Linked DNA regions of Homo sapiens: region 2 is linked to region 1. Evidence: promoter capture Hi-C in human tissues and cell types (Jung and others, 2019). All regions are on one chromosome and are shown on one strand. Each heading gives the region's core, a stretch centred on a gene start or on the middle of the fragment in contact. The rest is flanking DNA. Distances are from core to core; before and after follow the strand shown.

Region 1 (5,490 bases), core at 1,641-4,140:
GTATGATGCTGACTTAAGGCCAGAGAAGACTATTGGACTTTAAACCAAGAGCTTATGTTTAAGTTTTTATTACATCACAGTTCAGCTTTTACAATAAATAATGTTCCTCAAGGGTGTAGGCATATTGATACCAAAACATCAAAGAAAAGGAAGACAGGCCACACATCAAACACAGACATTAAAATCTTGACCTCAAACTAAATTCTGAAAGTTCTGTTATCTGCTGAATACTTGGAGCTTCCCAGTGAAAATGATACAGTGTATTCTGCCCAGATTGCAACTTTCCATACTAAGCATTTGAAATGATTCTTGGCCCTAAATATCACTTACTTCAGACTGAATGTCACTGTGTATCAAAAACACTGAGCAAGTGAGATTTTTATTCTTTGAACGTTCCAGTAGGTCACTAATGGAATAGATTCAGTAAAACCTTGCAGCCTACGGTATAATTTGAAACAACAAAAAAATCAAATCACTTTTTGGAAAATATTAGGTTTGAACAAAAATAGAAGTTTCGAAAGGGCTGCCACTTACATTCTTACCTCTGTTAGTTCTTTCCCATCACTCACAGGGAGACTGAAATCCATGCTGAGTGCCCACAGACCTGGGCAGGAGCTGTTCCCTTGAGAGACAATGATGCAAATGAGTCAAGTGATGCCTAGTAGAAGTCAGACTGCAAGGATCACCTTGACCTCACCCTAGTGCATTAGCTAAGCAAACTCACAAGCTTTAAATAATAAAGGTAACAAGAGATTGATCTGAGGTGGGGGAAGTATTATTGAGTCCCTTGAGGAAAGGAAAAAAAAAAAAAAAAGAGGAAATGAGCTCCCAGCTCAAGAATTTTTCTCCTCCAAGCATCCTCTGTTGCTTGTTTTCTTCCATCTTCCTGGCCCTCTGGACCTCTCACTTCCCCCTCCTACCTTTTCCTACTGCTCTAACACAATAAGATAACCTCCCACCGGTTTCTCGCTATTTGGGAAGCTGGAAGGAACAGCAACGATCACCAACCCCTTCCATTTTCCGGATGGGGAGACGGAGACCAGGATCTGAGCTGACCCGACTGGCTGAGGTCGCGCCGCTAGGGGACGTGGTGTACCTTGCGGGCTCGGATGATGACAACCCAGCCTTCCCTCCTCGCTCCTCGCCCGTGCCTTCCTGCCTCAAGCTACCTCCTTCTCTTGCCACTTGGTGTTTTTATCCTCAAATCAGACAAGTATCAAGAAAAAAATGCAACCTTAATATACTTACAATGCTGATTATTATTCATAATTTTGCATTTGGGGCAATTATACTCGCTCCTACTGGGATATGGAAATCAAGGGCAGAAAGAACTAGGTGACATTCTACCTCCCTGTGTATTTTAATGATGTTTAGTTTGGTTCAAATAACCATACCTCTAAAATACACCCTTTTTCCTTGGGACCCACTCTTCTATCCGGCAAGGGAATAACTTCTTAAAAAACTTCGCATTTTCCAAGTGTACAGTCTCCCCTTAACCAGAACTGCAGACTCTGAATCACAGACCTCTGGCTTACCAATTATGCTTAGCTGAGCAAACACACTTATGCAAATACGTGAAAAACAAACTGTTAGAGCCTGAAGGAATAGAGGATTTCGCTGTGATCATCAATATGTGATCATCACATTTTCAATATTTATGTTTACCAATATCTATCTAACCCCATAGGAAACGACGCGTCCATAGTGAAACAAGCCAGCACCCACATTTATGAAAAAATCCACGGATTTCAACAAAAATGAAGAGAGGAGAGCAGAAGCGGAGAGCCACAACCTCAGGCCCCAGACAGCAGGCAGCAGCAAGTCCTGAATGCCTTCACTCTTAACATTGCAAAGACCAAATGGCAGCAAAGAAAAACAAGAATAAACTTTAAATCCATTCACCACAAAGGAGTCCTACGCAAGTCAAAGGAGCCGTCGATTTCAAAACCATCAACTTTCAAAGCCAGGTCCCTCCCTTGCCTTACAACCTCCTGTTACTTGTTAAGCACGTTTGTTAGGCGGCTGGACAGAAACTTAGTTAAAAGTCCTCAGCCCGGTGGTGGGGGACAACCGAGTCGTCAGTGGGAAGCGAGAGGTGCGGAGCCCCAGGGGCGCAGGGACCCCTCGGAGGTGCAAGTCCAGCGGGACGAGGTTTTGGGAGAATTTCGAGGGCCCCTCGCAAGCCCTCCCGCGCACCCACCCCGACCCAGGTAACCGGAGGCCACCTACGTGTCACTGGGCGGGCCCCGGGGCGCACTGACCTGGCGCGGGACAGGAGGGCCGGCGGCCCGGGCGGCTGCGGCAACTTCCCTCCAGGGGCTCGGTCCGCCGCTGGGTGCGGGAGGCCAGGGGAGCCTCGCCTCCTGCAGGCCGGCTCGCAAGAACGCACGGCCACCCACCCGCGCCGCGGCCCACAGCGCGCACCCACACTCTCACTGGCACTCGCACGCGCGCCCCCAACCACAAAGCCCGTCCGCGGCGGGACAGTGTGAGCCCAGCGCGCCGTGTGGCGGGCCGAGCAGTCGCCGCGGCCTCTGGCTTCGCGCCCAGGGGGCGCCGTCCCCACACGCCGCGCCGGCCCCCTTACCTGCGCTCGCTGCCGCCGCGCGTCCCTCTCCTGCCGCCCCCGGGCTGGCTTCAGGCCGCGCGCCCAGTCCCGGCGGCCCCCGCCCCACCGCCAGCCGAGCCCGGCCCTCCGCCCGCCCCTCGGCAGTCGCCCAGAGCGGGGCCGCCCCCTGCGCCCACCCCGCCGGGGTCCCGTGCTCGGCCGGGCGGCGGGGAGGGCTCCGCGGCTCCGGGCCCTGGCCGCCCCAGATCCGGCCCGCGCTCCGCAGCGGGGCTGGAGACGGAGTCGCCACTCAGGGAGCGTCAGCCGCCAGTCGGCCCCTACTGCCCGGCTTTGGCGCGCTGGCAGGAGGAGGGGGCGCAGAGGGAGGGCCAGAGGAGCAGCGCCGACGCCAGCCTCCTCTCTTCCTCCGCCTTCCTTCTTTTCTGCTTGTTCCACGTAGCACAAGTCAGCAACACCCGAACCCCCAGAGTCCGCCCTCCCCGCTCCCAAGCTGGACCCCTTACCTGGTGTGGCGCCCCCAGCGCCCCTGACCTCTGCGCCCCCTCCTCCATTCATTGGCTCGACAGCCCACGGTGGTGGCAGGGCCGGGGCTGGGGGGTGGCCTTAGCCTCCCATTCATTATCTCAGCAGCCTCCCCCGCCCCGCCCCCGAGTCGACACACCCGCAGCGGGAGACCCGTGGCCGCCAGCTCGGGTCCCACCCCCGCCCCTCCTGCGCTTACCCCAGCGCCGGACAGCTGGCAGGACTCCGGTGGACGCCCCGGCACGGGGCATTTTCACGTTGTCGCTCTCCTCTTCCCACTCGAAAAGCTCTGGAAAACATCGCGGGGCCCGCAAAACCCCGGAAATGTGGCCTCTCTTTCGTGGCTCACTTTCTAAACTTTCCAGAAGGCGCAAAGTTTCTCCCAGCGCCGCCCTGCACTGGAGGCTGCGAAGAACGCAGAAGCGGCTTTGCTGCTAGGAAGGTGCATACGTTTCTAGTTCTGATTTTTCACTTCACTGGATCTGTAAACGAAAGCAAGTGTGTCTGCTCCCCTAGTTCTCCATATCCACGATTATAAATTTCTCTTCCGCTTTCCCAGTGTAGCTTTGCAAGTGTAAACTATCAATTTTAGTGAGAGTAATTAAGGGCGGGGACTGCACACCTGGAGGTGTGGGTGGGAGCGGCGCGGGACTAAGGCCTAGGGAACATTCTCAGGAGAGTGGCAGCCACAGGGATTCGCCCAGGTCTTATAACACACCCACTCGATGGGGTCTCCCTAGCCACGCCACCTCACAACACCCATCTCCCACTTCTGGCTTCCCAGGATTTCCGGAGTGATCACAATTATCGGCCTCTCGCTCCACAGCTAAGGCCACCGCATATCAAAAATAGCAGCGTGTGAGTAAAAGTTTCATGAGCCCTCGCCTTGAAATGGCACAGAGGACACAGCACACCAGCAGTAAGGCATGGGGACTCGGCAGGACTGATCTGATTGAGAGAAACGCAGGACAGCGAGGCGGGGCTATGTTGGTGGTGGCCACCAGGTAACCGTGGGCTTTGCAGAAGAGAAAGGTCACTGCAAACCGTAGCTGGACGGAAACTTTTCAAGCCTCAAGTGAGTTATGCTGTGACGGGACCATGACCATCTCCCACCGGTGACTGCTTAGAACCTTGACCAAGCTCGTGTGGTTTTCACAGGATGCTCAGGGCTGAGTCCTGGCTGTAAATAATTTACTATCTAAAGCTGTTTCCTTTTAAAAACAATGGTTCTAATCTTTTTTTTAAAAAAAATCATTCAAATCTTTTTTAAAAATCCACTTTAAATAACTTTGCTTTCTATACCTTTCCTACGAATATATGATTTATTTTATAACCTACTATGTGAAAAAATTGAAATTTTAGTACATGCACAGTGCTAATATGTTCATGCACAATGCTACTTATGTTTGTGTACGGCATGCAGAAATGTGTATAGATATGTATACCCATGAATACAAACCACTCCCTTATCTCACAAATAATCATAGGGGTTGATACCAAACTATAAGAAATATTATATTGGGATGAATAGGCAAATGTTCACTATAAAATCTCAGTATCATAAAAAGTATATATTGGTAAGAAAAAAATATACTCGAAAGAGGTTTCCATATATTTTTAACCATAGCTCTACTCAAGTCAAAAAATCACTTATTAGCTAATTTTCCCGTCTCTTTCTTCCTATACACTGTACTTACTATCAGATTTCTTAACACCAATACTTCTATATCTAATATAAAGACATTTTAAAATTAATTATTTCCATGTTTAGCCTTTCCCCATAAATCAAAGGTAAAGTAAAAGGAGTTTCTTACCTACCACTCAACTTGAATATTTTTAATATGTTGATTTTGTCTCTTACCTTCTTAAGGAATACAGTTGCTTCTGTTTTGACTATCTTAACTACTCTGTGGCCCCTTCTAACATCAAATTGGGAGGCCTGTCCGTACAAGACATGTGTATTCAACAGTAAGTTATTTGCTATAAAACACTTCATTTCCTCTTTATTTGGTCTGCTGTGGCCTGAAATGAAATATAGAACAAACTGAAAGGTCTGCCTGGACAGACCTGTCTTCCTGACAAGCGTGGACCTGTCTAAATGAGACAGCTTCTGCAGCCAGCTTTAGATCGATAACTCTAAAATTAAATGTAGGTATGTACATCCAGTAGAAAAGGACAGAGAAAATGAAATACAATACAGAATTCAGTTCAGCATCTAGATTAATCCATAAAACCTAGCTCATTATGTTCCAAATGAGCTACTTTTCTCATCTGTAAAATGGAATAATGGTACCAGTGCAGTCTTTTATATGGTTCCAAGTTGTCTTTTATCAAAGTAAAATAATATATTTGGGTGGGCTTCTGAAGACACTAACATTGATGATGAGGTTTCAACAGGA
Region 2 (5,138 bases), core at 1,040-3,539, 260 kb before region 1:
GTGGTGTTCTGTTTCAGAGGACAAAGCACACAGAGGCCCAGACTGTGTTCCTCGAGCCCTACCCATTAGCCCCAAGATCATAGAAAAATCTTCCAAGCTGGAAACTGGTTGACAATGATCCTGACTTTCAGTAGGTGTGTTTTTTAAACTCTGTATACCTTTTTCCTCTACCTGTGTTGTTATTTGAATATGAAGTTGGGAGAAGACATATCAGAGATTCCCAATCTAATACGTTTTAAATTTGACGTTTTTTTCCCTTAGACTAGCATTAATTGTGTTTCACAACAAAACGAGATAGCATTTCATCTCACGGGACAGTACACTAGATTTCATGAGGTCTCATATTATTTACAGTAAAAAGTTTCTTTCATAAACGCGCTTTTTTCAAGAACAATTTACCATGATGATGTCTTGAAAACACAGAATTTAGGCTCTGCCACAAATTTGCTTTAACATGTAATGATTCATCAAGTTTTGTTCTCCATATACTATTTTAGAGAGTACTGCTTGGCAGTAAAGGAGCTCTTCTGCGCAAAAGAATGGCTGGTAATGGAAGAGAAGACCCACAGAGGACTCTACAGATCCGAGATGCATTTGCTGTCCGTGCCAGAATGCAGCAAGCTTCCCAGCATGCATTGGGACCCCACGGCCTGTGCCAGACTGCCACATCTAGGTAACACAGAGTTCTCCCAAGACTTTGGAGGTTAAGAGAAATTTACTATTTTGAAGAAACTAAGGTGTGAACTTAAAGCTTCTAATATTTCTAGGCATTTCTAATTTTTTTTTTTTGAGTTCTGCCTTCCTTAGATACCTACTAGCGGAATCCTAATGCTATCCTAATTGTACAGATTAGCGTAAAGATTTATTTCATTTGCTCTAAAATAAATGAAACAGCACTTTTAATTACTGCTTGACATTTTAGATTCTTTCATAGGGAATCTTATGAGAGCTTGTAACATTTTCTGGAGTGTGTAGAAAAATGGCTAAGAAACATCTTATATTTTGTCAGCAGAGTGGAATAAAGGAATAAAGTCCTTTTTCTTAGCCAAGAAAGCATGCTAAAATAAGACACATGTTTGAAAATGCTGATCTCACAAAACAAAATTGAATTGCTTCATGTTGCTTTAATGAACTTTGTTTGTAAGGAACTATGTTGTTATCCCTAACAGCTGGTTTAATTTCAAAGACCCAATTCTTTCACATTCGAATGCAAAGAATGTTTTCCAGTTGTATATTAAAAAGCTGAGAGAGAACTTGCATTTCTTAGCACTCACTCTCTCACAGAATATGTGAGATATCTGGATGCTCACTTAAAACAAATTTTTATCCTTTCCCCTTCAGATTATAACAAAGAAAACCTAAAAAGTAAGTAATTGTGTTTGTGCCCTTGAAACCTTATGTGTATGTAATTGGATTCATGCATGTGTGTTTACACTTATATTTCCTGATGCCCAGAACAGAATGTACAGCCGCTCTCAAAGTCTTCTCACCATACTCATCCAGGGTATAACATGAGGGAAAATCATGGAAGGTCTCAGTTTATAACTTTTAATTAGACCGTAGAGAGTACCATATTTAGTGAGTCATACAAATGCTATCTCCCACCTCAAGGTTTTTAGTCTGTTTTATTTCTTATATGGCTATAAGTAAGCCAAATTTAAAATGTCACCTTTTGATTTTATATTCTTGATTCAGTATAATCTAATTATGTATAGATGAAACCCAACATTTATTTCTTCATTGAGCCAATTCATGATCTTCATTTGTGACAATAGATCCCTCTTTTGGAAGTTAGGTATTTTTTTAAGACAGCTGATTTCCAGTATAAAGTTTATAGGATCAAATCAAATGGCTTTAAAAAGGTCATCACAAAAATCTCTGGGAAAGAATTCAAGAAGGTTGCTTGAAAAGGGATGTCGTACAAAATAACTTGTATCAGATAGTGCTTTAACCTGTCAGAATGCAGAAATCCTCAGGATGAAATTAGAAAAGCTTTTCATGTCAACTAACTTCCTCTGGTCTCAGCGTTCTAAGGCTTAAATCACACTTACTTCCTGTAATACATATTCCAGCCCTAATCTCCTCTGCATTTGACTAGGTGCCAGGACTTGATTTTACCAGCTTGCTTAAAGGACCAACACTTAAAAGTATTAAAAGCAAGAATGCTACTGGTCCTAGTTGAATTACTCAGAGGTATTAAACAAGAAGAGTTATGGAAACCTTAAAAATCTATTATTCTGGTAGCCTGTCAAATTGTTATTCCCAAATCGAAGGAATAAAAAAAAATTTCAATTCTTTGTTATATGAGCAGCCAAAGTTTACTTTGATTGGACTTTGAATTGATTACTGTGCTCTTTGTTATCCATCGATTGCTCACTCATCCATTCAAACATTCATTGAGGGTTTGCTGTGTGGAAGGACCAGACCATTCATCTTAAATTAGACAGGAACAATACACAAAAAAGCATCCACATTTCTGCCTTTCACACTAATTATAAAGGAATTTTGAGCAGCACAAACTAGCTACAATAATAAATTTTCTAGTCTTTAAAAAACAGCTTTATGAAATCTTCGATACATGTAAGAAAATGAGCTCCTAATGTCATGAACTAACCATTTAAACTGAAAGTAGGGCAGGGAATATCTGAAAGTATGCTCCTTGAGTTAAGGCAATTATTATTAAAAGAGTTGGCTTTAGCAGGTCAATAGTGGAGCAAAGAAAACATCCTTATTAGGCAGTGTCCCATATTTTATAGGGGTGTGTAAAGACCTTAAGTATTTTCCAAAGAGTGTCTTGATTTCTGAGTAAACTCTAAAGAATATCACCAGCTCATTTGGAGGGGTCACAAAAGAGCTGTTAATCATTTGTTTATCTTTGCATTATTTTCTTCTTCCTTGAGCATAGGGACTAGAATTTCAGTAGTTTTTCTTTTTTATAATTTCTTTGGCTGAAGTGAAACATCTTTTTGAGCAGGCAATGCCTTTGTGCTATTTACATTATTTGTAAGCAAGGATTACACTATTCCTCTCTTCCGTGAGACTTCACATACTTTATTACAGAAACACTCAGCAGTGAATCTGTCTTCTATTTCAGAGCTTCTGTGGAGAAAAGGTTAATTTGTCTTAATCATTGAAATAATTACTTTTCTCTTGAATTCTCTTTTTCCTTCCATCTTTGCTCTTTCTATACATATACATGGAGAATAAAGGACCCAATGAATGTACCCAAATCCAAACTGACTAGTGTGATACATACATTATCTCTCTTAATACTCCCAATAGTTCTACAAAATTAAGTACTATGAACGTCCTCCATTTTACTTACAACCCAACATGAGAAAGAGAGATTAAGCAATGTGTCCAATTTTACCCATCTAGTAAGGTGATAAGCCAGAATTTGAACTGAAATCTATCTGATTCTGGCTCTGTCTTCAGAGCCAGAATGTTATACCTGATGCATTTCTGTTATTACTAATGTTTCTTAAAAAATTCCAAGACCTCATGTGTAATAAAGCTTAACTGATTGTTTAACTGATTCATTCTTGAATAAATTCCACTACCTTTTCACATTTGTTATAATTGATTATTCTTAAGAAGCTCTAATTGATAAAAATTTTATTGTTCACAATTTTAAATCACCCAGGCCACTTGATGATTTGACTTTTTGTTAACATTTAAATGAATACATGCTTTGTGTCCCAGACCATTTTTCCATAATGATCAGCTACTATTTTGCCCACGAATGAAATCATGAAGCGTCAGTGTCTCTGTGTGTGTGTGTGTGTGTGTGTGTCTGTGTAAAACTCATGAATTATTTCATAATTTGAAATGTGGTTTGGGTAATTTTTGTGGTAATATTAAAGTTACAAGTTCTTAGAAAATTGGAGTTTAAAGTAACTTTAACAGTTATTTAATCTAAAGTCTCCCACAATGAAAGAATCTTTTCTAGAGCATCTCTGACAGAAACATTCCATTTTCCCTCCTGAATTTATTTCTCAATTCCTTTGTAGAATACATTAATTATTTCAACAATTTAGCTATGTAGAACTAAATTCTGGTTCTCTAGAACTGTCAACAACTGATCTTCACTCTATTTCTTTGATTTATTTATAATCTGTATGATAGTCCTTAAAATATTTGGAGACAGGCACTCAATCTCTCTGTAGTCTTCTCTTCTTCACATTAAATATCTCCAATTTTTAACTTTTTCTTTTGCAACTGACTTCCAAAATCCTCACCTCCATGTTTACTTTTTACTGGCTGCCACAAGCTTGAGAATATCCAGAACTGAACACAAAGCACAGAACATGATCTGATCAGAATTGCAATGCAACCATATTTTCTGTGATAAGGCCTTGTTCTTTTATGAGTATAGATTAAACTCATGCTAGCTGTCTAATAATTTCATGACATTAATAGCCCTTCTATACACATATGGGTTTACTGATTTCCTTGATTTTCTAATAAATTTTCTACTAGACCAATCCAATTCATAATTATTTTTATTACATTCTTCTAGCATTTATAATAATTTGTACTTTACATGTTTAGTTACTATGTTCTATGAGGCATAGTGATCCAAGACACTTTTCTTTTTATATGAAGCTCTTTACCAATGTAAAATGTCACTCTTGTCTTGTTTTAGTGCTTTTAGCTTTAAATTTCTAGTATTAATAATGGTAATTTTTTCCTTGTATTTATGTTAACCTAGCACCTCTTTGTTCCTCTTTTATTTTTCTTTTCTTATAAACAACATATACCTGGGTTTACTCCAATCAGATAGCCATTTTCTATTAATAGGAGGATTTAGCCTGTTCATATTTTATATCACAACTGATATACTCTATTTTATCCCTACTATCTTAACTGTATATTTTCTATTCGCTTTACGTTTTTGCTTCTTCTTTTTCTTTTTCTTTACTTGTTACTGGTTATGTTTTCTCCACTGCTAAGTGAAAGTCAGACACCAATTCTTTCTACACATCGCAGTGCTCTATTTATTCTTCATTTCTGCCCACCCCATGGGACTTTCAGAATCTCCAGGAGATCCTCAGACTGCTTGGATCTTCTTCCTTACCTCCCCTGGTACTCTTAGGTTTCTCTTTGCAGAGTGATTCTCAATATTGAGTCTTACCTAG

Evidence for each region. The method cuts DNA at HindIII sites, captures the fragments that hold promoters and counts their contacts. A contact is called where the count stands out against the background at its distance.
Region 2: a contact is called between a fragment that was not itself captured here and the fragment with the promoter of LPAR1 in region 1, in 3 of the 25 tissues and cell types used here (dorsolateral prefrontal cortex, hippocampus and mesenchymal stem cells).

What each region holds. Positions count from the first base shown.
Region 1 is chr9:111,035,580-111,041,069 of GRCh38, forward strand. LPAR1 (lysophosphatidic acid receptor 1) reads right to left here and starts at 2,891. Exons shown (of 6, transcript NM_001351411.2): 1 at 2,588-2,891; 2 at 543-622. LOC124902248 (a long non-coding RNA gene) reads left to right here and starts at 1,349. Exons shown (of 2, transcript XR_007061732.1): 1 at 1,349-2,210; 2 at 3,876-5,490. RefSeq lists a silencer at 2,321-2,660. The HindIII fragment of the contact is 11,259 bases long and covers 1-5,490 here.
Region 2 is chr9:110,775,291-110,780,428 of GRCh38, forward strand. It overlaps MUSK (muscle associated receptor tyrosine kinase), which reads left to right. Exons shown (of 15, transcript NM_005592.4): 10 at 498-673; 11 at 1,342-1,365. The region is part of intron 2 of LOC107987115 (a long non-coding RNA gene); the gene reads right to left. Among named protein-coding and RNA genes, the nearest start is that of MUSK, 110 kb to the left of the region's middle. The HindIII fragment of the contact is 3,206 bases long and covers 687-3,892 here.